Linked DNA regions of Homo sapiens: all the other regions are linked to region 1. The links are contacts of gene promoters, found by promoter capture Hi-C in blood cells and fetal thymus (Javierre and others, 2016). All regions are on one chromosome and are shown on one strand. Each heading gives the region's core, a stretch centred on a gene start or on the middle of the fragment in contact. The rest is flanking DNA. Distances are from core to core; before and after follow the strand shown. Region 1 holds the start of NQO1-AS1 (NQO1 antisense RNA 1). Region 2 overlaps TERF2 (telomeric repeat binding factor 2). Region 3 holds the start of TERF2 (telomeric repeat binding factor 2). Region 4 has its middle 17 kb from the start of CYB5B. Region 5 overlaps CYB5B (cytochrome b5 type B).

Region 1 (5,439 bases), core at 1,796-4,295:
TGGGTTCGAGCAATTCTCCTGCCTCAGCCTACTGACAGGCACCCGCCACCACACTCGGCTAATTTTTGTATTTTTTAGTAGAGACGGGGTCTTGCCATGTTAGCCAGGCTGGTTTCAAACACTTGACCTCAAATGATTCTCCTGCCTCAGCCTCCCAAAGTGCTGTGATTACAGGCGTGAGCCACTGCACCTGGCCAGGTACCTCATTTTCAACGAACCTTCAGGGGAATTCATTCATTGAGCCTTCGTGGGGTTCAAAACCTCAAGATAGCATCTGAAAATAGATCTTGAGTTGTGAAGATGAAAGCATGGTCATAATTCAGAATGATGGGAGCCTCCTTTAAGAACCTGCCTGCCTTCCCAGGTGCCTGTGTGTGAACACACCTGCGTGTGCATGTGTTCAAACAGCATTCTGTCCCAGCCAAGGACTAGTGTGAATCACTACTCTTGATTTGTATAGCCGTGGGCCCTGGTCTCACCAGATGACTGACATCTCTCTCCAGCCTTCCTGTCCTTCTCCAGGTTGCTGATACAGTCCCATAGACTATTAGAGCCCAAGACAATTTAAGAAATGATTTACTGGGAGGCTGAGGCAGAAGGATCGCTTGAGCCCAGGACTTTGAGACCAGCCTGGGCAACATATAAGACCTCATCTCTACAAAAAAAAAAAACAAAATTAGCTGGGTGTAGTCATACACCTGTGGTCCCAGCTACTTGGGAGTCTAAAGTGAGAGACCCAGGAGTTCGAGGCTGCAATGAGCTATGATCACACCACTGCATGCCAGCCTGGGATACAGGGCGAGACCCTGTTTCGAAGAAAAAGGAAATAATTTAGTCCAGCCAGTTTATACATGGATAAAACTGAAGCCTGGGGTGGGCTTATTGGTGTTACCAAACCCTCAAGATAATTTCTATAAAGAGGGAGGTTGGAGAGAAGAGCCAGTGAGTGGCCACTTATGAAAATCATTTATCAAGACTCATCTGGGCCTGTAATCCCAGCACTTTGGGAGACTGAGGCAGGCGGATCACTTGAGGTCAGGAGTTCGAGACCAGCCTGGTCAACACAGTGAAACCCTGTCTCTACTAAAGATACAAAAATTATCTGGGCATGGTGGCGCATGCCTGTAATCCCAGCTACTCGGGAGGCTGAGGCAGGAGAACCGCTTGAACCCAGGAAGTGGAAGCCGCAATGAGCCGAGATCGTGCCATGGCACTCCAGCCTGGACGACCGAGCGAGACTCTGCCTCAAAAAAAAAAAAAAAAAGAAAAAGAAAAAAAGGACTCATCTAGTTATATGGAGAGGCAGAGAAATGCACCCACGCAGGTCTTGGTGAGTCACCTGCCAAGAAACTGAGACTCCCTAAAGTAACAGAACTTCCAGCCTTCTTGGCAAAGGATCCAGGTTGGCACAGTTTCAAGGTTTATGCATTTAAAGAAGAACACACCTGAGAAGGCTAAAATTGGTAACGGCTAGGTAGAGGGTAAGAGAGAGACGCTAGCTCTGAACTGATTCTCTAGTGTGCCTGAGGCCTCCTTATCAGAGTGTCTTACTGAGAAGCCCAGACCAACTTCTGTTGTTTATAGTACAACTGCATGGAATTGGTTGACTTACCTCTCTGTGCTTTCTGTATCCTCAGAGTGGCATTCTGCATTTCTGTGGCTTCCAAGTCTTAGAACCTCAACTGACATATAGCATTGGGCACACTCCAGCAGACGCCCGAATTCAAATCCTGGAAGGATGGAAGAAACGCCTGGAGAATATTTGGGATGAGACACCACTGTATTTTGCTCCAAGCAGCCTCTTTGACCTAAACTTCCAGGCAGGATTCTTAATGAAAAAAGAGGTACAGGATGAGGAGAAAAACAAGAAATTTGGCCTTTCTGTGGGCCATCACTTGGGCAAGTCCATCCCAACTGACAACCAGATCAAAGCTAGAAAATGAGATTCCTTAGCCTGGATTTCCTTCTAACATGTTATCAAATCTGGGTATCTTTCCAGGCTTCCCTGACTTGCTTTAGTTTTTAAGATTTGTGTTTTTCTTTTTCCACAAGGAATAAATGAGAGGGAATCGACTGTATTCGTGCATTTTTGGATCATTTTTAACTGATTCTTATGATTACTATCATGGCATATAACCAAAATCCGACTGGGCTCAAGAGGCCACTTAGGGAAAGATGTAGAAAGATGCTAGAAAAATGTTCTTTAAAGGCATCTACACAATTTAATTCCTCTTTTTAGGGCTAAAGTTTTAGGGTACAGTTTGGCTAGGTATCATTCAACTCTCCAATGTTCTATTAATCACCTCTCTGTAGTTTATGGCAGAAGGGAATTGCTCAGAGAAGGAAAAGACTGAATCTACCTGCCCTAAGGGACTTAACTTGTTTGGTAGTTAGCCATCTAATGCTTGTTTATGATATTTCTTGCTTTCAATTACAAAGCAGTTACTAATATGCCTAGCACAAGTACCACTCTTGGTCAGCTTTTGTTGTTTATATACAGTACACAGATACCTTGAAAGGAAGAGCTAATAAATCTCTTCTTTGCTGCAGTCATCTACTTTTTTTTTAATTAAAAAAAATTTTTTTTTGAAGCAGTCTTGCTCTGTTACCCAGGCTGGAGTGCAGTGGTGTGATCTCGGCTCACTGCAACCTCTGCCTCCCAGGTTCCAGCAATTCTCCTGCCTCAGCCTCCCTAGTAGCTGGGATGACAGGCGCCTGCCATCATGCCTGACTAATTTTTGTATTTTTAGTAGAGACGGCGTTTCACCATGTTGGCCAGGCTGGTCTCAAACTCCTGACCTCAGGTGATCCGCCTACCTCAGCCTCCCAAAGTGCTGGGATTACAGGCGTGATCCACCACACCTGGCCCTTGCAATCTTCTACTTTAAGGTTTGCAGAGATAAACCAATAAATCCACACCGTACATCTGCAATATGAATTCAAGAAAGGAAATAGTACCTTCAATACTTAAAAATAGTCTTCCACAAAAAATACTTTATTTCTGATCTATACAAATTTTCAGAAGGTTATTTTCTTTATCATTGCTAAACTGATGACTTACTATGGGATGGGGTCCAGTCCCATGACCTTGGGGTACAATTGTAAACCTAGAGTTTTATCAACTTTGGTGAACAGTTTTGGCATAATAGTCAATTTCTACTTCTGGAAGTCATCTCATTCCACTGTTGGTATTATATAATTCAAGGAGAATATGATAAAACACTGCCCTCTTGTGGTGCATTGAAAGAAGAGATGAGAAATGATGAAAAGGTTGCCTGAAAAATGGGAGACAGCCTCTTACTTGCCAAGAAAATGAAGGGATTGGACCGAGCTGGAAAACCTCCTTTACCAGATGCTGACTGGCACTGGTGGTTTTTGCTCTCGACAGTATCCACAATAGCTGACGGCTGGGTGTTTCAGTTTGAAAATATTTTGTTGCCTTCATCTTCACTGCAATTTTGTGTAAATTTCTCAAAGATCTGAATTAAATAAATAAAATTCATTTCTACAGACCCACACTCATTGGTATCAGTGAAGCTAATGATAGTGGAATCTAGTGGGAGGCAGATCAGAGGATTCAATCACAAACTGCAGCTGGAAGCCCCTTGGTGACTGGCTTGACAACTCACCCAGCAGGGCTGCTTCCTACTAAATGGTAATAGAACAACCTATTCAGTCCTCTCAGGGAATTCAAAGGAAAGAGAGTGGTATAGAAATCAAGAAAAACAGGCTGCGTGCAATGGCTCACGCCTGTAGTAATCCCAGCATTTTGGGAGGCAAAGGCGGGTGGATCACCTGAGGTCAGGAAACCCAGTCTCTACTAAAAACTTAAAAAATTAGCTGGGCGTGGTGGTGCGGGCCTGTAATCCCAGCTACTCAGGAGGCTGAGGCAGGAGAATTGCTTGAACCCGGGAGGCGGAGGTTTCAGTGAGCCAAGATCGTGCCACTGCACTCCAGCCTGGGTGATAAGAGCGAGACTCTGTCTCCAAAAAAATAAGAGACATCTATTAAGACTGCCAGGTGAGGCTGACAAGTAGGCAGTTGGATAGGAGAAACCTGGAGTTAAGGCAGAAGTTATGGCTGGAGATGCACATTTGGGAATCTTCAACATATAGATGGTGTTTAAAGCAATGAGATTGGCTGGGATCAATCTCTTTGAGTTTTGAGAGAAGAGATTTGATGATTTACCTCTGGGGCTCGACAATGTTAGGAGATGAAGATGAGAGTGAAAAGCAGTGGTCAGATCCTTTTGTAGTTCCTAAGTGTGTTGATTGGGTGTTCACGTGCATGTGTGAGATGTGGCACCCTTGAATCTTGTTATGACATCAGTACATTTCCCGTCTGACATGAAAAAAAAAAACAAAACTGGTGTTCAGAGATGCAGGAGAGCTGAGTGTGGTGTCCCGAAAGCCAAGCGAAGAAAGTGTTTGAAGATGGCCGGGCGCAGTGGCTAACACCTGTAATCCCAGCATTTTGGGAGGCTGAAGAGGGTGGATCACCTGAGGTCAGGAGCTCGAGATCAGCCTGGCTAACATGGTGAAACCCTGTTTCTACTAAAAATACAAAAAATTAGCTGGGCATGGTGGTGCGTGCTTGTAATCCCAGCTACTAGAGAGGTTGAAGCAGGAGAATTGCTTGAACCCAAGAGGTGGAGGTTGCAGTGAGCTGAGATCACACCATTGCACTACAGCTTGGGCAACAAGAGTGAAACTCTGTCTTGAAGGAAAAAAAAAGTGTTTGAAGGAGGGAATGATCAGGTGTGTCAAATACTGCTGACAAGCCAAGCAAGACGAGGCCTGGGAAGTGACCACTGGACTTGGTCATGTGGAACCCATTTGTTGGTGACATTGACAAGCACCATTTCAGTAGAGTGGCGTGATGAAAGCCTGATTTGAATGGGTTTGAGAATGGAAGGAGAGGAATAGAAATAGTGTGGAGGAGGCTGTGTGATCAAAGAACAATTTTTTTTAAGAGATCAGGGACATTACAACAAATTTCTATGTCAATGGAAATGACTCAGAGAAAGGAAAAGTTTTGATGCTGATGACAAAGGGACATCTTTGAAAAAGCCAAAATGCTATATTTGTATATTTATCCCCTCCAAAACTCAAGTTGAAATTTCATCCCCACTGTGGCAGAATTGAGAGGTGGGGACTTTTAAGAGGTGACTGAGGGCCAGCATGGTGGCTCACACCTGTAATCCTACCTAGCACTTTGGGAGGTAAGGCAGACAGATCACTGGAGCCCTGGACTTCAAGACCCAGCCTGGGCAACATGGTGAAACTCTATCTCTACAAAAAATGCAAAACTTAGCCAGGTGTAGTGGGGGGTATACCTGTAGTCCCAGCTACTCGGGGTAGGGACTGAGATGGGAGGATTGCTTAAGCCCAGAAGAGGCTGCAGTGAGCTGTGATTGTGCCACTGCACTCCAACCTGGGT
Region 2 (5,439 bases), core at 1,400-3,899, 340 kb after region 1:
TTGGGAGGCCCAGGGGGGTGGATCACCTGAGGTCAGGAGTTCGAGACCTGCCTGAGCAACATGGTGAAACCCCATCTCTACTAAAAATATAAAAATTAGCTGGGCGTGGTGGCAGGCACCTGTAATCCTAGCTACTTTGGAGGCTGAGGCAGGAGAATCGCTTGAACCCAGGAGATGGAGATTGCAGTGAGCCAAGATTGCGCCATTGCACTCCAGCCTGGACAACAGAGCAAGACTCCGTCTCAAAAAATAAATAAATAAATAATACAAAAGCAGAGATACTGGCAGAGGCAAATGGAACACACCTGGTCTCCCTCATCTGCCATTTTTATCTCCTTTACACATGGTTAATCTGCCATGGTTGAAGTAGAACATTCACTTGCAATCGATGGTGGTTCCCAAAGGCGATGACTTGTGAACTAAGTTTGGAGGAAGGGTGGTTTGGTAGATGTGGTACGATGGAGTTGCTAACAGGAAGAAGGCATGGTGTGGAGAAAGGTGTCACTGAAAGTATAAAGTTGAAAGAAGCCAAATGAAAACATTCTTTAATTGGATCAAAGAGATAAAAGAATGGAAGCAGTGAGGCTCAGGACAGCATAGGGAAGAACTAGACCCAGGCTGTCATAGATGGGAGACTGTGGTGAAGGAACACTGAGTGAGAGTGGTTTTGTTTTGTTTTTGAAACCAGGACTTTGGCCCAGTACAGTGGTTCACACCTGTAATCCCAGCACTTTGGGAGGCCAAGGCAGGCAGGTTGCTTGAGCTTAGGAGTTCAAGACCACCCTGGGCAACATGGTGAAACCCCTTCTCTACAGAAAATACAAAAATTAGCCAGGTGTGGTGGCGCGTGCCTGTAGTCCCAGCTACTTGGGAGGCTGAAGTGGGAAGATCACTTGAGGCTGCCAGTGAGCTGTGGTTGTGCCACTGCACTTCAGCCTGGGCAAAAGAAACCAGGACTTTGAGAATGTGGAAAATATTCTGTCTCGTAACAGATCTGCCAGGCCCATATTAGGATAGTGTCCATGATCTTAGCAGTCGTTTGGCAAATCTCAGATTATTTATAAGCAGGTAGTTTGGGATATTCAGGCAGCAGGTGTCAAGATAGTTGAGCCTGGCCTAGGGTCCTTTCCTTTCCATTCCAGGTAACTGGAAACTATCCTTATCTATATAACACAAAGAGCCCTGATTAGCCTACTCAGGGCTCTTTGTGTTATATAGATAAGGATTCTCAAACAGTTGTTAATAAGGCAAAACATTTGTAGAAACAGTTATAAAAATTCTATACACAAACTGGAAGATATTAGTATGAACATTTATTGCCGGGCATGGTGGCTCATGCCTGTAATCCCAGCACTATGGGAGGCTGATGCGGGCAGATCACTTGAGGTCAGGAGTTCGAGGCCAGCCTGGCCAACATGGTGAAACCCCGTCTCTACTAAAATACAAAAATTAACTGGACATGGTGGTGGGCGCCTGTAATCCCAGCTACTTGGGAGGCCGAGATGGGAGAATTGCTTGAACCCAGGAGGTGGAGATTGCAGTGAGCCGAGATTGCACCACTGTGCTGCAGCCTGGGCGACAGAGCAAGACTCCCTCTCAAAAAAAATGTATTAGTTATCTTAAGTTTGAATAAAAAAAGCTTGATTTATAAGTCTTACAAGTTCTCTCCCATTTTATGTCCTTCGTTTTATGCCTAGATTGGATTTGTAAGTGAACTTGTTTGCATATTGAGTATATTCTTGGTGAAAGAAGCAGAGAATTAATGCAATTCTGTGGCCTCTTCTTCCTGATGACATCCTTCCTTTCCCAGATGGCCAAAAAGGCTTTGAAATCTGAGTCCGCTGCCTCAAGTACAGGGAAGGAAGATAAACAGCCAGCACCAGGGCCTGTGGAAAAGCCACCCAGAGAACCCGCAAGGTAAAAAGATGCTCTCTTGTGATCTTGGGTAAAACACTAGGGTGGTCGCTGGAAGCAGTCTCCTCCTTAGGCCAGGATCAGTTCCTCTCAGCACTCCGACCTACTAACGTGTTACGAGGTTACTCATACAAGGCACTGGGGGAGACTGCACACCCTGGGAAGATAAGGAAACAGGATGCCTGGGGTCCCTGACAACTTCCTGACTGGCCATTCCTCAAAGGCTCTTTCACCATTTCTCTCTCCTTGCCTCCCCCGTATTGACTCAGTACTTTTCTTGTGGACACCTAATCTCTTAATACATTCAGGAAGCACTGCTCAGATCTGTGAGTCGAATCCCAAAACCAGTTCCTAAAGCAGGGGTCACAAGCTTAGATGCCCTTTGAGGGCCGGTTAGGAAACCTAAAGGAACAAAGTGGACCTAGGCTGAGAGCATGGGGCTGGGAACCAGGGGATGTGCTTTTCAGCTTCTTGTGGTTGTTGCTCTGTGGGAGTATCCAAGGATGCTCAGGCTTCAGGTGCTCAGATTTTTGTATGAGATGTCCAGGGTTTTCCATGAGATTTCCCAGTTTTTGGATGTTAACAGTTGATCCACTTAAAAAATTTTTTTTCATGTTGGTTAGACAACAAGACAGGCTGCCAGATGGATTTGGCCTGCAGGCTGCCAGTTTGCCCCCTCTCCTAACAGTTTTTCCCTAAAGCATACTAACTGTTCCAAATGATAGATGAACTTTATTTTTAAAAGGCAGTTTCTCATTGTTCCAAGACTGTGTGGCATGCCTTTTACTCTGAGAATTCTCAAGATCCTGCTCTTAAGTGTGTTGTAGGCCGGGTGTGGTGGATCACGCCTGTAATCCCAGCACTTTGGGAGGCCGAGGTGGGTGGATCGCTTGAGCCCAGGAGTTCTAGGATACAGTGAGCTGTGTTTGTGCCACTGTATCCTATCTCTCTGTCCTATCTACTGTCTAGGACAGACCCAGACCCTATCTCTAAAAATAAAATGAGAAGTAAAATAAAGGTTCTCTAACTTGGAGTTTTAAATTCATAATACAACTTACATATCACATTTAAAGCCTCCTCAACTGGAATTTGAAGCTTCAAACTTCAAAAAAGTTGTGGCTGTTTGGATGAGCATCATCAGTGGTGAAAAACATCTTTGTGCCTATGCTTGATTTGCAGGCAGCTACGGAATCCTCCAACCACCATTGGAATGATGACTCTGAAAGCAGCTTTCAAGACTCTGTCTGGTGCACAGGATTCTGAGGCAGCCTTTGCAAAACTGGACCAGAAGGATCTGGTTCTTCCTACTCAAGCTCTCCCAGCATCACCAGCCCTCAAAAACAAGAGACCCAGAAAAGATGAAAACGAAAGTTCAGCCCCGGCTGACGGTGAGGGTGGCTCGGAACTGCAGCCCAAGAACAAGCGCATGACAATAAGCAGATTGGTCTTGGAGGAGGACAGCCAGAGTACTGAGCCCAGCGCAGGCCTCAACTCCTCCCAGGAGGCCGCTTCAGCGCCACCATCCAAGCCCACCGTTCTCAACCAACCCCTCCCTGGAGAGAAGAATCCCAAGTATGAAGACCTTCTTTGTAGAAATTTTGGGGCTGGTTGGTGGTCCTGGTTGGGCCTGGTATTACTTCCGTGAATGAAGTAACTTTCAGCTAAGTTACTCACCACCAAGGCTTGCTCAGACTGCTAGAACTTGACGCAGGAGTGGCCAGTGACGACGTAGCCATCCCTGCCGGTTCTGAAGCCCCGCATGTGGGCTTCCAAGCCTTGCACTAGGGCATGAGTGGGAATGGAAAGGTTTCAGAGCCTCCTACTCATCGCTGCTTTCATTTTTAGCAAACATCTGAGTGTCTTGACTTCTAAACATTAGTCTTGTGTGTTAAAAGAAATTTGTTTGCATTGGGCCACATTATACTTTGACCCTTAAAAAGAGACTGATGAATATGTATAATTTTGCACCCTTCTGAGCATTTGAGACTTGGCAAGTTCAGTGAATACTTACTAATCTCCCATGTCCTGCTAGGTACTGTGGGGCAGTGGCTAGAATACTTTAATTTTGCTCCCCATTGTGATTCTCATCCTGGCTTTGAGTTTTGCTTCCCTTTGTGTCCTGTGGTGGATCCTCCCTCCAGGCAGACTGGCCTGCTTGCTCTCTGGAACATGTTGTTTGTTTCTACCACTGTACTTTTGCTTCCTCTCATTCCCCACAGTGGACCGTCATCCCTTCATCATTGCTTGTCCAAATCCCATTTGTCCTTTAAAGGGAAGAAAAGCCGTTGTTGATGAAGTGCTTTCTGGGGGCAGAGCACTTTCATGTATCATCTTACTGAGTCACTACAATCCTCACTCTGTGAGGTGATGATATATTAGCCCCATTACACAGAGGAGAAGGGCTCAGAAAAGTTCTTAGCTCACCTGAAGTCACACAGCTAAAAGTGGCAAAGATGGGCTTTGGATTTTTAATCCAAGTCAGTCTTGACAGAAAAGCCCATGGCCTGTATACCATATACAACAAGTTGCCTCTCTTACAATTCTCCTTCCTCAGGCTGGGTGCGCTGGCTCACACCTGTAATCCCAGCACTTTGGGAGGCTGAGGCAGGCAGATTACCTGAGGTCAGGAGTTTGAGAGCAGCCTGGCCAACATGGTGAAACTCCGTCTCTACTAAAAATACAAAAATTCGCCAGGCGTGGTGGTGGGCGCCTGTAGTCCCAGCTACTTGGGAAGCTGAGGCAGGAGAATTACTGGAACCCGGGAGGCGGAGGCTGCACAGTGAGCCAAGATTGCACCACTGCACTCCAGGCTGGGCAACAGAGTGTGACTCCGTCTCAAAAAAACAAAAACAAAAACAACTTCTCCCTCCTCCACAGACTCCTCCCTGGTCACCACTAGTGATCCACCTTATGGATCTCCCAAGGCCACCTCTGCCTCTGCTCTGTGTTGTATTATTTGGGGACCTGTGGTCTGGCATGCATTGTACTTGGTGCCCCAAAGGGCTGTGGCATCTGATAAGTGATTTATCCTCAGGCACAGATTTGCACTATGTCACCACTACTTGTATGTAGAAGTGAGTCACCGGCTGGCAAATGGGCATAGCTGCTGGGCAGTGGATGCAGCTCCATGCATGTTATTCTCATTTGATACAGGATCTCATTGGCTTCTCACAGCAATCCTGTGCACTATAGGTATTGCTCCCGGGAACAGATGAGGAAACAGGAGAGTGCGAGATTACAGTAATTTTGTAAATGGGAGGATTTGTGAAGGTTTCAGACATACACCCTCTCTCATATGTCAAGGATATGAAGTCTAATGAATCCCCTAAAGCAGCAGGGGTTGGCAAGCTGTGGCCCTGGGGCCAAATCAGCCTACTGCCTGTTTTTGTAAATAAAGTTTTATTGGAACACAGTCACACCCATCATCAATGTATTATCTAGGGCTGCTTTCTGTTCATTGGTAGTTTGTTGAGTAGCCACAGCAGAGACAGGCTTGCAAAGTGAAAATACTATCTGGCCCTTTAC
Region 3 (5,439 bases), core at 1,759-4,258, 320 kb after region 1:
GGCTCACTGCAACCTCCGCCTCCCAGGATCAAGCAATTCTCCTGCCTCAGCCTCCCGAGTAGCTGGGATTACAGGCTTCAGCTACCACACCCAGTTAATTTTTGTATTTTTAGTACAGATGGGGTTTCACCATGTTGGCCAGGTTGGTCTCCAACTCCTGACCTCAGGTTATCCACCCACCTTGGCCTCCGAAAGTGCTGGGATTACAGGTGTCAGCCACAGCGCCCGGCCGGTATAAGCTGTTTTTATTAACTCATCCAGGACCTGCCTAGAAAGTCTCCTACTCTCCTCTATCAAAAAAAACTCATTTTTCTTTTATTTTTTCAAAATTAAGGTATGACTTACATAAAGTGCGCAAATCATAAGTGTCCTGCTTGATGGATTTTCTCCTCATTTTTCAAAGTCCCATCATCCTCTGGTTATCCCAAAATCATTCTCTTCTTTATCTACCACAAATACCCAACTGTCTCTTTAAGGGAACTTCTTTGAAAACCTTAAGTGCTTCCTGCTTTCCTGTAATCCCAGCTACTCGGGAGGCTGAGGCAGGAGAATCAATTGAACCTGGGAGATGGAGGTTGCAGTGAGCCGAGATTGCGCCATTACACTCAAGCCTGGGCGACAAGAGCAAAACTCTGTCTCAAAAAACAAACAAACAAACAAAAAACAGTTTACACTTACTGAGCCCTTACCACAAGCTGAGCCCTTCGCTAAAGGCATTAGAAATAGCAACTCATTGACTTTTCGTATAATTTCCAAGAGGTACCTTCATTATTTGTGCTTGACAGATGTGGAAACAGAGGCACAGAGACAGTTAAGGGATTTGTTCAAGGTTACACAGCTAGCAAGTAGAGGAGTTAGCACTGGCCAGGCGCAGTGGCTCACGCCTATAATCTCAGCACTTTGGGAGGCCACAATGGGTGGATCACTTGAGGCCAGGAGTTCGAGACAGCGTGGCCAACATGGTGAAACCCCGTCTCTACTAAAAATACAAAAATTAGCCAGGCGTGGTGGCACACGCCTGTAATCCCAGCTACTCGGGAGGCTGAGGCAGGAGAATCACTTGAACCCGGGAGGCGGAGGTTGCAGTGAGCCAAGATCGTGCCACTGCACTCCAGCCTGGGCAACAGAACAAGACTCTGTCTCAGAAAAAAAAAAAAAAAGTTAGAATTGAAAGGCAAGTGATTTGGCACCAGGCATAGTAGCTCAACCCTGAAATCCCCAGCACTTTAGGAGACCAGGGTGGGAGGAGTGCTTGAGGCCAGGAGTTCGAGACCAGCCTGGGCAACACGGCAAGACCCCTAATTCTACGAAAAAAAATTTCAAATTACCCAGGCATGGTGGCACACGCTGGTAGTCTTAGCTACTTGGGAGGTTGAGGCAGGAGGATCACTTGAGCCCAGGAGTTCAAGGCTGCAGTGAGCACGATTGTGCCACTGCACTCCAACCTGCATTACAGAGTGAAACTTTCTCAAAAAAACTAAAATAAAGGCAAGTGATTTGGTTCCTGGTTAAGGCAAGCAGGCTGGAATGGAAAAGCAGCCATGGGCCGGGCGCAGTGGCTCACGCCTGTAATCCCAGCACTTTGGGAGACCGAGGCGGGCGGATCACGAGGTCAGGAGATGGAGACCATCCTGGCTAACACAGTGAAACCCCGTCTCTACTAAAAATACAAAAAATTAGCTGGGCATGGTAGTGGGCGCCTGTAGTCCCAGCCACTCGGGAGGCTGAGGCAGGAGAATGGCATGAACCCAGAGGCGGAGCTTGCAGTGAGCCGAGATCGTGCCACTGCACTCCAGCTTGGGCGACAGAACGAGATTCCATCTCAAGAAAAACAAAGAAAAAAAAGAAAAGCAGCTATGATCACCAAAGATCAGTCAGACCTAGAGGCCTCTTCTCTCATCCCGGAACGTGTACCTCATAGAACTTTTGGCTTTCCAGGATACTATACATATTAAGGTCCTGATATTAATTCACAGGTCCAGCATGGGATTCACATCCTCAAGGACATGGCCACCTGCACTTCTGAGTTGTCTTTGAGTGGCCCCAAACTGGATCTTTGCAGGTTCCAGACTAGTGGGGCTGGTAGGACAATCTTTGAAGCTAGACCAGTTACTGGGCCTCTCAGGAAGAGGCACCCACAACCACCATCCTGAACTAAGGTCTGAGCTGGAGGTTCTCCATTTGGTCAAGTGCCAGTTGGTGAATTCCAAGAGTATCAGAGATATCTGAAAGTGACTCAGACCCTCTATGGGACTATGGGTGGTCCTTTTGCTTATTTTTCTAATTGTTCTACAACAAAATGTGTTATTTTTGTGATTACAAAGAGTATATGTCTAGCGGCTGGGTTGCCAGGTGCATTCTATTTATTGGTATCACACTGGTCTTTGCTTTATAATTACAGTATTTGTTAAAATACAAATTTGTTTAAAGACTTTCCTCTGTGTATGCTCTCTTCCACAATTTTCAAAGTGTTTAATAAGGTGCACATATTTGGTTTTCTTTTTTTTCTTTTCTTTTTTTTGAGACGGAGTTTCGCTCTTGTTGCCCAGACTGGAGTGCAATGGCGCGATCTCGGCTCACCGCAACCTCCGCCTCGCGGGTTCAAGCGAGTCTCCTGCCTCAGCCTCCTGAGTAGCTAGGATTACAGGCATGCGCCACCACGTCTGGCTAATTTTGTATTTTTAGTAGAGATGGGGTTTCTCCATGTTGGTCAGGCTGGTCTCGAACTCCCGACCTCAGGTGATCCACCCGCCTCAGCCTCCCAAAGTGCTGGGATTACAGGCGTAGAGCCACCGATCCCGGCCTGTTTTTCAGTCTCTAATACACTGTTCCGCGTCCCTAGCATAGTAGCTGTTTTCTGTAAATTCGGAGCGAAGTTGACTGCAAAACCCGCCGGGTTCACCGGCCTGGGCGGTGTGGACTTCAAGCCCCAGGAGGCATTGCGGCCGGCACATCGGGAACTACGGCGTCTGAGAAGGGGGCCGGGCCCTCCGGTCCTTTCCCTCCCAGAAGCCCGCGGGCGGCTCGGAACGCTGTTTCTATCATGGCCGCGGGAGCCGGGACGGCGGGCCCCGCTTCCGGCCCGGGCGTCGTGCGTGACCCAGCGGCGTCACAGCCGAGGAAGCGGCCCGGCCGGGAGGGCGGGGAGGGCGCGCGGCGATCGGACACGATGGCGGGAGGAGGCGGGAGTAGCGACGGCAGCGGGCGGGCAGCTGGCAGGCGGGCGTCCCGCAGTAGCGGGCGGGCCCGGCGGGGGCGCCACGAGCCGGGGCTGGGGGGCCCGGCGGAGCGCGGCGCGGGGGAGGCACGGCTGGAAGAGGCAGTCAATCGCTGGGTGCTCAAGTTCTACTTCCACGAGGCGCTGCGGGCCTTTCGGGGTAGCCGGTACGGGGACTTCAGACAGATCCGGGACATCATGCAGGGTGAGGGCCGGGCCGGGGGAGGGGGGTTGGAGCGCCGGGGAAGGGGGTCCGGGGGACCGGGAGTCGGGACTGGGGGTCGCCCAGCCAACGATGTCTTCTCTCCCAGCTTTGCTTGTCAGGCCCTTGGGGAAGGAGCACACCGTGTCCCGATTGCTGCGGGTTATGCAGTGTCTGTCGCGGATTGAAGAAGGGGAAAATTTAGGTATGGCTATTTTTGTGTTCTTCTCTGGGCTTACTTGCGTAGGGTTTTGTTTTAAAACTTATATCTAGAACTGAAGGATTCCAGGTTAAAGTGCGATAGTTTCCATCAGAGTGGTCTTTTTCATTCTACGATGGGTCTGTTTTCTGGCTCGACTGGCTCTAGTTTTCTCCGGTTAAGGTTGTCTTGGCTGCTTTTCTGTGTTTTTTTTAAATCTTCTCCCACCTGTTAATTGCTCACCCCAACTTTGCTCCTGTCTAAAGTGAGTTATGTTCATATGGACATCTTTTTTCCCCCATGGTAGAGAGTTTTTCAGAGTGGAAGTACTCTGACATTTTTCCCCTCTGAATTTAACTTGAAAGCTATTTAGCTGTTGTCAGTTTCTTGCCACTCGTATCTGAGGAGGATGGGTATATTCTGAATTTGAGAGGCAAATGCAGGTATTTAAAAATAATTTTTTTGCCTGTCTTGACAGGTGTTAAAAAATGGTCACGTTAAATTCATTGATTTGAATTTGGACCCTTATCGTGTATGTCAACCTGTAGCAAATATGTCAAAAAATTAAATGCAAATCTTACCATATTTGCATGCTCCATTTCCATAAATATATATATATAATTTTTGGACATAACTTTTTTACCCTTAGAAAAGAGCTTAAAAATGAAAACTGTGCTTTGTCCTAGACTGTTCCTTTGATATGGAGGCTGAGCTCACACCACTGGAATCAGCTATCAATGTGCTGGAGATGATTAAAACGGAATTTACACTGACAGAAGCAGTGGTCGAATCCAGTAGAAAACTGGTCAAGGAAGCTGTAAGGCTCTATTTTTATATCTTTTTTCTTTGACCAAAAATCAAGGGTCTTTGAGGATACAGCACTTACTCTTTACTGTGTGGGGCAGAGGAAAACAGCAATGGGGAGAGATTGAGCAAGCAAGAAAGCACACACACAGACGTTATTTCTTCAGGTGTCTCCTTTCCCACCCAGGCTTGGGAAGTAATGGCAGTTGCTCAGTTTTTGTGATTTGGGTGGTCTTCCTTGTGGCTTTGGCATTGAAGCTCTGACATTTTGGAGGTTACTGCACCATTCGGGAGCACTCTACAAGGGCCTTAAGTAACTCTGGCCTAGGGTTTGGTCACCCTTGTTTATAATAAACCAAGGAGATAAACTGGGGCCTTGGAAAATGTGGTACTGACTTTGAGTTCTTTCTGTCTGCAGAAAGAGGGGCTTAGAGAATATCCCTTTTGAACAGATAGATTAGAATCAGAGGTGCTGGGATAATGAGCCAGCTAGCAAAATAGTAATGGTAGAAGAATGATAGAAATCCGGCACAGGCAGTGTTCTTGAATTCAAGAAAAAAGCTAATGGAGTGTCTAGGAATTTGGGATTGTCACTGTGTTGTGGCTCAGGTAGCTTCAAACAGTAGAAATTATTTTAATTTAAAACATAGAAGTGGCTGTGGGAACCAGTTAGAAAAAGATTTTTCTTCCCCCAAAACCAAGGCTGGGGGGTGTGGAAGCAGATGCAGAGGTGAAGATGGAAAACATCAGCTAAGCATTGCCCTGGTGGTAGAAAATAGGGAAATGGTTAAGAAAAGAGCACCCCTAAAAGGATGGGATCCCAAAGATGGGGGTGGGGTAGAAAGAAAAACCTTGCTTCACAAGGAAAACCTGTCTCTTGGCTGTGTACATTGTACTTGGGTACCCTATTAAAAAACAACTAGTGTGCATGAGGTGCACATATTTTATTTATTTAATTAAGGACCTTGGGCAGATACTACTTTTGGTCTGGTAAAGAAATGCTTAAATATTAGTCAT
Region 4 (5,439 bases), core at 1,872-4,371, 300 kb after region 1:
GCTTCTGGGATAAGGAAAAAGGGGTAAAGTTTCTAAACAGAGTTTTTTTGAAATCGGAGTGTGGGAAAGGAATTTGGCCTTGCCGCTGGGTTGAGAATGCCTACAGGCAGCTCCAAACCTCGATGCTTTCTTCTTAAAGCATTTTAACTTTGTGCTAACTTGAGCAGTGGACGTGACACCCACCCCCGGTTAAGTTCAGGTTAGGTTTGGGACACTGGGATATTTTCTTTCATCCATAATCACTGGATCAAGTCCTATAAATCAAACAGTTGAGACACAAAACACAAACAAGGTTGTAATTTGTTTCTTCCTGCCCTCTGTTTTTCTTGGCATGGAAAAACTCAAGCTTTTCCTGACTAAGGATGGGTAATGACATTGAGGGGTGATTCATTAAAAGTGGCCTAAGTAACTGGCCTTTTATTTCTTCTCATTCTTTCCCCATATTGTCCCAAGTTCTGTAAGGAAACACATTGAATAAAATAATTCTTCTGTTGATAAAGAACTTTCCCTTGACTCTTTGTTCACTTGCAGCTATACGTTCCCAGAATCAAATTCTTGGAACTGGAGAGGCCAGTGTGAGTACGGGTAAATGTGATGGGTATTTCTGGTAGAGAAAGAAAGGCCAAGAGCCCTGGCTTATGGAAGCCACTTCTCTTACCACCTTTTCTTTCTTTTTTTCTTTTTTTTTTTTTTTTTTTTTGAGATGGAGTCTTGCTCTGTCGCCAGGCTGGAGGAGTGCAGTGGCATGATCTCGGCTCACTGCAACCTTCAGCTCCCTGGTTCAAGTGATTATCCTGCCTCAGTCTCCTGTGTAGCTGGGATTACAGGCACGCGCCACCATGCCCAGCTAATTTTTGTATTTTTAGTAGAGACGGGGTATCACCATGTTGGCCAGGATGGTCTCGATCTCCTGACCTCGTGATCCACCCGCCTCGGCCTCCCAAAGTGCTGGGATTACAGGCATGAGCCACTGTGTCCAGCCTCTTACCACCTTTTCTTAACCAAGCTGCCTATTAAGTAAGGAAATTTTTCCTGTCCCCAGGGATCCTGGCCACCCAACCAAGAGTGGGGTGTTGCTGTGGGTGAGTCTGGGAGCCTCAGTTCCTCAACTCTACAACGGATGTCATAATACGAGTACCTTCTTCTCACATGAGTGCCCTTTCTTTCTTTCTTTCTTTCTTTTCTTTCTTTCTTTTTTTTTTTTTGACAGAGGGTCTGGCTCTGTCTCCCAGGCTGGAGTGGGAGTGCAGTGGCATGATCTCGACTCACGGCAACCTCCACCTCCCAGGCTGAAGCCATTCTCCTACCTCAGGCTCCCAAATAGCTGGGACTACAGACGCGCACCCGCACACCTGGCTAATTTTTTGTATTTTTTGTAGTGATGGGGTTTCACTGTGCTGCTGAGGCTAGTCTTGAACTCCTGAGCTCAAGCACCTCCCACCTCCGCCTCCCAAAGTGCTGGGATTACAGGTATACGCCGCCTCGCCCAGCCGTGTGTGCCAGTATTTCAACCATTCCTGAGACCAGGAAAGAGAAAAGGACGCAGTGACGACAACAAAAATTCCATGTAATAATACAACTACATCATAATAGTAGGATAAATAGCAGAATAAACCATTTTTATCTTCTACATCATGCACTTCTATATTATTTGAACTGCTTTTATAAAATTTTTAAAGGAATATGAAGAAATTTTAAAATATGTATAGAAAAAAGGCTGAACACTTAATAAACTAAAAGGTTAACAATAGCTATCTCGAGTTGATGGCTTTGAGCTGACTAGCTTTCATCTTTATACTTTTCCATGCTTCTCTATATCTTTGTTTAGTTATTTCAAAGATTGTATACTACTTTTGTAATTAAAAACTAATAATAATAAAATACTATGTTATTTAAGCTGGTGTGTATGCACCAAATTCCTGCTCCTCTCTGTGAAAGTGGAACAATCTATTTTCCAAGAAGTGGGCGTAAAAGGATACAAGTGGGTTGGGCGAGGTGGAGGACAGATGTGACTGTGGTCCCGGTCAGGGTGAGGCTGTGGAAAAATACCAGGGATGCCACACCCTGCACGTGGTTCTGGTGAAGTCCATTATTAAATCACTGCTCCATTGTTCCCCGCCCCGCTCCATGTGATATAATCCATTTCCTCTCACCTGCTGTTGTAAGTAAATCTAACTTTTCTGCCTTTCTTGTAATTTCCCTCCAAAGCTACTTCTATCACTCCACTATCTCTATGGATTCCCAAGGAGAACAGCTTCTTCTCCTGGGGCTGGGAATACAGCAAGGAAGGGGACAGGTGAGAGGATGAATCTATGGGTCCTTGATGCTCTAAGTTGGTGGTTCTTGATAACTTTTGAGAAGGGATTCAATAAATAGCAGACTCAGCCTGGCCAACATGGCAAAACCCCATCTCTACTAAAAATACAAAAATTAGCCAGGCATGGTAGCGCACACCTGTAGTCCCAGCTACTTGGGAGGCTGAAGCAGGAGGATTGCTTGAACCCGGGAGGTGGAGGTTACAGTGAGCCGAGATGGCTCCACTTTACTCCAGCCTGGGTGACAGACTCAGATGCTGTCTCAAAAAATATATAAATAAATAAATAAATAAATAAATAAATAAATAAATAACACACTTCCTCCCTACTCAGGCTCTAAATCAATTGAGGGGGGAAAAAAGTCAGAAGATGGATTATCTTCTGATGAAGGCTATAGGCTGTAGAATGTGGCTGAGTGTGTCCTTGTATCCTAATAAGACAGACTGTCCCATCAGTCACAAGCAGCGGTGGACCGGAGCACCCTCCCATGTGGAGGGAGAGAATTTGTGCTCCCTTCTTGATCCTCAGATACCAGGAAGAGGAAGACACGGCAACTCATGCCCAGTTTCTCCTGGGGCTGGGAATATGCTAATGCTCTCCTTTCCCTATGTGCAGGAGTAAGGGCTGAAGAGGAGGCTGGAGCGTTATAGTAGTTGATGGCCCTTCACACCAAAGGAAATATCTGGAGTAGGAGGAAGCATTTTCTTCTCCAAAAATTCTTTTTTTTTTTTTTTTTTTTTTTTTAAGAAAACAGCCTTGCTTTGTCACCCAGGCTGGAGTGCAGTGCAGTGGTGCAGTCTCAGCTTACTGTAACCTCCGCCTCCCATGTTCAAGCAATTCTCCTGCCTCAACCTTCCGAGTAGCTGGGATCACAGGCGCCCGCCACCATGCTCGGCTAATTTTTGTATTTTTAGAAGAGCCAGGGTTTCACCATGTTGGCCAGGCTGGTCGCGAACTCCTGACCTCAAATGATCCACCCGCCTCGGCCTCCCAAAGTGCTGGGATTACAGGCATGAGCCACCGTGCCTGGCCCCAAAAGTCTTACTATTTCTTGGATTATACAATAACTTTGAGGATGTGAAGCAAGCTATGAACCACCATCCAAGGAAAATGCACGTAGGTCTTGTCATGGACTTTTGTATCCCTTTCCCTGTCTTCTGGTTTCTGTAGCTCCAATTTTTCTTTTAGGAACTGTTCCTCTTCCATTCTGTGTGAAGTAGTGGTGCTGCCAATCAGTATGCTCCGCCTTCCCTTGGTGACAAGGGTTGGGCATGTGATCCACTCTGTCCAATCAGAGAAGCCTGTTCTCCTAGCCCTATTGTTTCAGGAATAGGCATGTGATTTAAAGCAGCCAATCAGGGAAAGACAACTCAGGGAGGCGTGACATACTTTCCTTAAGAATACTGACCAGTTTGGGCAGGGTGGCTCATGCCTGTAATCCCAGCACTTTGGGAGTCCCAGGCGGGCAGATCACGAGACCAGGAGTTTGAGACCAGCCTGGCCAACATGGTGAAACCTCATCTCTACTAAAAATACAAAGTTAGCCGGGTGTGGTGGCACACACCTGTAGCCCTAACTCGGGAGGCTGAGGCAGGAAAATTGGTTGTACCCGGGAGGCGGAGGTTACAGTGAGCAGAGATCATGCCACTGCACTCCAGCCTGGGCAATCAAGAGAGGCTTCATCTCAAAAAAAAAAAAACAAAAAAAAAAACAGGGCTGGGCACAGTGGCTCAAGCCTGTAATCCCAGCACTTTGGGAGGCCGAGGCAGGTGGATCACCTGAGTTCGGGAGTTCGAGACCAGCCTGACCAAAGTGGAGAAACCCCATCTCTACTAAAAATATAAAATTAGCTGGGCGTGGTGGCGCATGCCTGTAATCCCAGCTACTCAGGAGGCTGAGACAGGAGAATCACTTGAACCCGGGAGGTGGAGGTTGCCGTGAGCCGAGATCACACCATTGCACTCCAGCCTGGGCAACAAGAGCAAAAACTTTGTCTCAAAAAAAAAAAAAAAAACTAACCTGGAGAAAAAGTAAAGGTTAGACTCTCTGTAGATGTTTTTTTTTCTGCCAAGTAGAAAGAATCAGTCTGAAGAATGGAGCCCAACAAAGCAGAAATGTGTCTAATTAGTGAACACTTGAATCTAGTCATCAATGAAATCTGGTCTTCTGGTTACTTGAGCCACTAAATTCACCTTTGCTTTTGCCCAAGCTGCTGGAGGTAGGCTCCTGTTCTTTGGTATGTGCACACACAGAACTCGGCCTCCACTTTCCAGAAGTGCTAACTATGAGCCCAGACCTGCCTTGTATGTTAAGAGCCCCCTCTGTGAGCGGTGCCCATTATGAATTTGAAAAATGATCATCTATTCTAAAACATTCAAACACATCTTGCTGCTGCATTTGGGGCAGCAATACTTGCTTCTTCATGTTGGCACCGTTTCTGCCTGTCAGCAACTTGGAAACCATACTGAAAATACAGGCCGGAGGGCATGTAGCTTAAGAGAAAACAAGTCTCATGGGTGTGTTACAATGTAGGAAATGCTAGCGAAAGTGTCTACCAGAGGATAGAGAGGTTAAAGTTCGGCCACCCTCTTTTTCTTTATATATAATGGGTGAGAGTTGGAGGTGGGAAAGGGAGAAAGAGAATCCCACCCAAACCAAAGAGGATGTTTGGACAAGTTAATCTGCGGAAAGCTCTAGAAATTTGATGCAGGGTGATGAAAAAGCTGTGGCATGATAACATCTAGTGTTTGATTAAGCCTTTCCTCTAGGCTGGATGTCATACTTAGCACTTTACATACATTGTAGCAATTCTAGTGGGTACTATTGTTATTCCCATCTTACAGATGATGAAACTAACACTGAGAGGAGTTAGAAACTTGCCCAAGGGTCCTGCTGGTAGAGCCAGGATTTGACATCAGGGCATTCTGAACCCTATATTTGCTAACCACTATGCCCTTCCTTTCTAGCTAAAGACCTGGGTTTGAATCTAGCTCTGTTACTTGCTGGTTGAGTGACCTTGAGCAAATCAACCTCTTTGAGCCTGTTGCCTCATGTAGAAAATTCAGGGAGTAGGCCGGGCGTGGTGGCTCACACCTGTAATCCCAGCACTTGGGAGGCCGAGGCA
Region 5 (5,439 bases), core at 2,940-5,439, 280 kb after region 1:
ACTCTATTTCTGTATATATTTGTACATATTTGTATATATAAGTATATACATGTTTGCACATATAAGTATATGCACGGAAGATGTAGTATTCAAACAAATTATTGGGATTGAAAGAGTTTAGCCTACCCTAACTTAAATGTGTTCAGAACATTTACGTTAGCCTACAGTTGGGCAAAATCATCTAACATGAAGCCTATCTTACAATAAAGTGCTGACTATTTCATGTAATTTATTGAATACCATACTGAAAGTGAAAAACAGAATGCTTGTATGAGTACTCACATATCACTTTCACACCATGGTAAAGTCAAAAAATTTTAAGTCAAGCCCTAGTAAGTCAGGGACTGTCTGTAAATTGCTTCAATGTCATCCCTCATCTTCAAACATGTCAGTGGTTTTCTATTACCTTTTGGATCAAATCCAAACTACCTACCAGACCTTGCATGTCCTGGGTCCCGCCTAGCTCTCTGGCCATTCTTGTCCTTCATTCACTATAGACACAGCTTCTTTCAGTCCCACTAATGTGCCAAACTCTTGCTTGACTTCAAATGCTGCTGGAATGCTCTTTTCTGTATTCTTTCCAAATCAGGTTCATGACCATCAGCTCAATTAAATGTTATCTTCTCACAGAGGCTTTCCCAGATCACTCTTATTAAATTAAATCTTTCCTGATTTTTCTTTCTCAACTCATTTGTTTTCTTCATAAAAGTGCCATAATTTAAAATTATTTCATCTGTCTGTTTTTGTTTTGACTCCTCTAGAATGGTAGCTTCAAGAAGGCAGTATCATGGGATATTTTCGTTTTGTTTGTTTGGAGACAGGGTCTCGCTGTCACCCAGGCTGGAGTGCAGTAGTGCTATCTCGGCTCACTGCAGCCTCGATGTCCTGGCCTCAAGCCCTTCTCCCACCCCTGCCTCCTGAGGAGCTGGGACTACAGGCTCATGCCACCATGCTCGTCTAATTTTCGTATTTTTTGTAGAGATGGGGTTTTGCCATGTTGCCTAGGCTGGTCTCAAACTCCTGAGCTCAAGTGATCTGTCCACCTTGGCTTCCCAAAGTGCTGGGATTACAGGCGTGAGCCACTGCACCCAGCTTTGTTTTGTTTTTAAGACAGAATCTCACTCTGTCGCCCAGGCTGGGGTTCCATGTTTATGTTTATTTTTATACACCACCAGGGCCTACTACTATATAGAACTTAACAAATATTTGTTGGGTTAATAAAATGTTATCCCATTTATGAGATGGTTCCTAAAGTAATATTCTCATTTATGGTGACAGTTTCTAAAAACACATATAGGCCGGTGCCGTGGCTCACACCTGTAATCCCAGCACTTTGGGAGGCCAAGGTGGGCAGATCACTTGAGGTCAGGAGTTCGAGACCAGCCTACCTAACATGGTGAAACCCCATCTCATAAAAACTAGCCAGGTGTGGTGGGAGGGACCTGTAGTGCCAGCTACTCCAGAGGCTGAGGCAGGAAAATCGCTTGAACCCAGGAGGCAGAGGTTGCAGTGAGCCAAGGTAATGCTACTGCACTCCAGCCTGGGCGACAAAACAAGACTCCATCTCAAAATAAATAAATAAATAAATACACATATAAAGCTTTAAAATAGGGCTGGGCATGGTGGCTCACACCTGTAATCCCAGCACTTTGGGAGGCCGAGGCGGGTGAATCACCGGAGGTCAGGAGTTCAAGCCCAGCCTGGCCAACATGGCAAAACCCCATCTCTACTAAAATAGAAAAATTAGCCGGGCATGGTGGCATTCACCTGTAATCCCAGCTACTCAGGAGGCTGAAGCAGGAGAATCACTTGAACCTGGGAGGCAGAGGTTGCAGTGAGCTGAGACCATGCCATTGCACTGCAGCCTGGGCGACAAGAGTGAAACTCTGTCTCAAAAAAAAAAAAAAAAAGTTTTAAAATATCACAATGTTATTTCAAGTTACTCTTTTGACAAATGACTATTTATACACAAGTCAATGGCTTCCAAATTTTCACTTGTAATACCCAGTAAGGAAATAATTTTACACTGCAATCCAATAAACACCATATACATGAGATATTATAGGCCAGGCACAGTGGCTCATGCCTGTAATCCCAACATTTTGGGAGGCCAAGGCGGAAGGATCACTTGAGCCCGGAGTTTGAGGCCAGCCTGGGCAACATGATGAAACCCCATCTCTACAAAAAAAATACCAAAAAAATTAGCAGGGTGTGGTAGTACATACCTGTAGTCCCAGCTACCTGGGAGGCTGAGGCGGAGGATTGTTTGAGCCCAGGAGGCAGAGGCTGCAGTGAGCCAAGATGGCACCACTGCACTCAAGCCTGGACAACAGAGCCAGACTGTCTCCAAAAAAAAGAAAAAAAAATACATTATATATAACTGAACAAAGTTTCACAAAATTTTACCCTTGATAAGAGAGATGCACTTTGATATTTTCTATCAATGTCATAAGATATTACAATCATTTTTATGTGATTTTTCTAAACTACTAAATGGTGGAAAGATAATGACATGTACTACTTTCATTCATGATTTCAACAACTCATGAATGCACTGATTCAAACAATGCAAAATTAATCTGCCAGGGAAAGACAATTCAATTATATTACTAATTCTAAACTACCACATTCAAACTCCAGTATCATACTCTAACCAGTCATTAATCAAAAAAATGGTAAGCTACAGACACAGGACACTTAAGATTAGGAACCTCTTGCTAAAGGAGGGGCCCCAAAGTGACATCAGATTGGAAAGAGAAGGATGAATACCAATGTAAATCTTCCCTCTCTCATCTAATAGCAACCCAACTCTTGAAGACTCATAAGCCAAAAACTTTGGTGTTATCCTTGACTCATTTTTCTTTCATTCCCCAAATCTGGCGCATCATTAAATCCTATTGGCTCTTCCATCACAACACATCCAAAATCTGACACTTGTTCTGGTACAACCCACTATCTCTTGCCTAATTACTAAAACAGCCTCCTAACTGGTCTCCTCAATTCTGCCCTTGTCCTCTTAAGAAGGCAAAGCCAGCTGGACTTCCTGGGTGGAGTGGGGACTTGGCAAACTTTTGTGTCTAGCTAGAGGATTGTAAATGCACCAATCAGTATGCTGTAAAAATGCACCAATCAGCACTCTGTGTCTAGCTAAAGGATTGTAAATGCACCAATCAGCACTCTGTAAAAATGGACCAATCGGCACTCTGTAAAATGGACCAATCAGCAGGATGTGGGCGGGGACAAATAAGGGAATAAAAGCTGGCCACCCCAGCCAGCAGCATCAACCTGCTCTGGTCCCTTTCCACACTGTGGAAACTTTGTTCTTTCACTCTTCACAATAAATCTTGCTGCTACTCACTCTTTGGGTCTGTGCCACCTTTAAGAGCTATAACACTCACCGCGAAGGTCTATGGCTTCATTCTTCAAGTCAGAGAGACCAAAAACCCACCGGAAGGAACCAACTCCAGACACACTCTTCCTTCAGTCTTTCACAACAATGTAGTCAGAACGATCCTATTACGCCATTAAGTCACATCATGTCACTCTTCTGCTCCAATGATTTCCCATCTCAGAATAAAAGCCAAAGTCCTTCCTAAAACCTGTGAAGTTGTACATGATTTGTCCTCCCCTGATCATTCTGATCTCATGTGCAACTATTCAACCACTGTGGCCTCCCTGACTGTTCCTCAAACATACCAGACATCCTCCCATCTCAAGGCCTTTGAACTTGTTTCCTCTGCCAGGAATGCTCTATGCTCTTCCTACAGATACCCTCATGGCTAGCTCCTTTACTTTGCTCCTGGCCTTTACTTAGTCATCTTCATAAAGTTATCTCGGCACCATCGCTAAAATTTCAAACCCTCCTCCTCACACCACATAAATATTCCACAGTCCTCTTCCCTGTATTATTTTTCTTTTTTTTTTCATTTGTGACGGAGTCTCACTCTATCACCAGACTGGAGTTCAGTGCCACAATCTTGGATCGCTGCAACCTCCAACTTCTGGGTTCAAGTGATTCTCCTGCCTCAGCCTCCCAAGTAGATGAGAGTACAGGCACATGCCACCATGCCCAGCTAATTTTTGTATTTTTAGTAGAGATGGGGTTTCACCATGTTGGCCAGGATGGTCTCAATCCCGACCTCATGATCCATCCGCCTCGGCCTCCCAAAGTGCTGGGATTACAGGCCTAAGCCACCGTGTCCAGCCCCCTGTATTATTTTTCTTCTTAGCACTTACCACTACCTAATGTAGTATATATTTTAGTTATTTACTCTGCTTATCGTCTGCCTCCTGTGCCATGTAATCTCCATGAGGGCATAGCTGTTTATTCACTACTAAATCCCCAGCACCTAGAACAGTGTCTAGAACATAGTAAAGGCTTAATAAATATTTGAATAAGTGAATGAATGAATAGGCTTGGAATGAACAAGAAAACAGAATAAATAAGAATAGCTAATTAGGCTGAGCACAGTGGCTCACACCTGTAATCTCAGCACTTTGGGAGGCCCAGGCAGGAGGATCCCTTGAGCCCAGGAGTTCCAGACCACACTGGGCAATAGTGGGACCCCAATTCTTTTTTTTTTTTTTTTTGAGACAGAGTCTGACTGTCGCCCAGGCTGGAGTGCAACGGCACCATCTTGGCTCACTGCAACCTCCACCTCCCGGGTTCAAGCGATTCTCCTGCCTCAGCCTCCTGAGTAGCTGGGATTACGGGTGTGTGCCACCACGCCCAGCTAATTTTTTTGTATTTTTAGTAGAGACGAGGTTTCACCATTTTGGTCAGGCTGGTCTGGAACTCCTTACCTCATGATCTGCCCACCTTCGCCTCGCAAAGTGCTGGGATTACAGGTATGAGCCCACACCCAGCCAGTGGGACCCCAATTCTACAAAAAATTTTAAAAATTAGCCAGGCGTCGTGGTGCACACCTTTTCCCAGCTATTCGGGAGGTTGAAATAGAAGGATCACTTGACCCCAGGAGACTGAGGCTGCAGTGAGCTGCACTCCAGCCTGGGTGAAAGTAAGACCTTGTCTCAAAAAACAAAACAAAAAAAACAAAACTGCAGGTAAAGAGCTGCAGCTCAAGCTCCAAGAGAAACCTTGGCACATTAGTGATGTCTCTGGCTATATCAGCATGTGGTTGAAACAGGTTAGTTACTTCTGGAATCTTCACAGAGGAAAAAAAAAAAGAAAGAAACAGGTTAGCAACTATTACTTGAGACTGAATTAATGCTCTCTGTAAGGGCTGAGTGTTCCCTCCAAGCTCACCATCTATTCTGAATCAATCAAGAAAAAAAATGGAGGGAAATAAAACCACAAATGAAAAACATGATTTTTTTTTTCTTTTTTTGAGATGGAGTCTCACTCTGTCACCCAGGCTGGAGTGCAGCAGCACCATCTCACCTCACTGCAGCCTCCACCTCCCAGGTTTAAGCGATTCT

The links. Contacts are between HindIII fragments. The CHiCAGO score rates a contact against its expected background, and 5 or more counts as called.
Region 2: a contact is called between a fragment that was not itself captured here and the fragment with the promoter of NQO1-AS1 in region 1, in 5 of 17 cell types (activated CD4 T cells, megakaryocytes, erythroblasts and 2 more). The highest score is 7.2, in activated CD4 T cells.
Region 3: the fragment with the promoter of TERF2 here is called in contact with the fragment with the promoter of NQO1-AS1 in region 1 in 6 of 17 cell types (endothelial precursors, megakaryocytes, activated CD4 T cells and 3 more); the score reaches 10.6 in endothelial precursors.
Region 4: a fragment that was not itself captured here is called in contact with the fragment with the promoter of NQO1-AS1 in region 1 in 2 of 17 cell types (activated CD4 T cells and endothelial precursors); the score reaches 8.3 in activated CD4 T cells.
Region 5: a fragment that was not itself captured here is called in contact with the fragment with the promoter of NQO1-AS1 in region 1 in 1 of 17 cell types (monocytes); the score reaches 5.3 in monocytes.

The regions. Positions count from the first base shown.
Region 1 is chr16:69,707,480-69,712,918 of GRCh38, reverse strand. It overlaps NQO1-AS1 (NQO1 antisense RNA 1), which reads right to left and starts at 3,045. Exons shown (of 2, transcript NR_198990.1): 1 at 2,818-3,045; 2 at 2,336-2,682. It overlaps NQO1 (NAD(P)H quinone dehydrogenase 1), which reads left to right. Exons shown (of 6, transcript NM_000903.3): 6 at 1,638-3,518. The coding sequence ends at 1,943. SNORD13H (small nucleolar RNA, C/D box 13H) reads left to right here and starts at 4,244; the gene lies at 4,244-4,347. The HindIII fragment of the contact is 13,005 bases long and covers 1-5,439 here.
Region 2 is chr16:69,364,854-69,370,292 of GRCh38, reverse strand. TERF2 (telomeric repeat binding factor 2) reads left to right here. Exons shown (of 10, transcript NM_005652.5): 6 at 1,811-1,917; 7 at 3,094-3,486. Among named protein-coding and RNA genes, the nearest start is that of TMED6, 16 kb to the right of the region's middle. The HindIII fragment of the contact is 725 bases long and covers 2,287-3,011 here.
Region 3 is chr16:69,383,576-69,389,014 of GRCh38, reverse strand. TERF2 (telomeric repeat binding factor 2) reads left to right here and starts at 3,008. Exons shown (of 10, transcript NM_005652.5): 1 at 3,008-3,422; 2 at 3,529-3,624; 3 at 4,305-4,435. The coding sequence starts at 3,044. RefSeq lists a silencer at 3,013-3,392. The HindIII fragment of the contact is 13,848 bases long and covers 1-5,439 here.
Region 4 is chr16:69,405,294-69,410,732 of GRCh38, reverse strand. No RefSeq gene overlaps it. Among named protein-coding and RNA genes, the nearest start is that of CYB5B, 17 kb to the left of the region's middle. The HindIII fragment of the contact is 5,546 bases long and covers 349-5,439 here.
Region 5 is chr16:69,427,145-69,432,583 of GRCh38, reverse strand. All of the region lies in intron 1 of CYB5B (cytochrome b5 type B), which reads right to left. Among named protein-coding and RNA genes, the nearest start is that of CYB5B, 5.2 kb to the right of the region's middle. The HindIII fragment of the contact is 5,174 bases long and covers 1,603-5,439 here.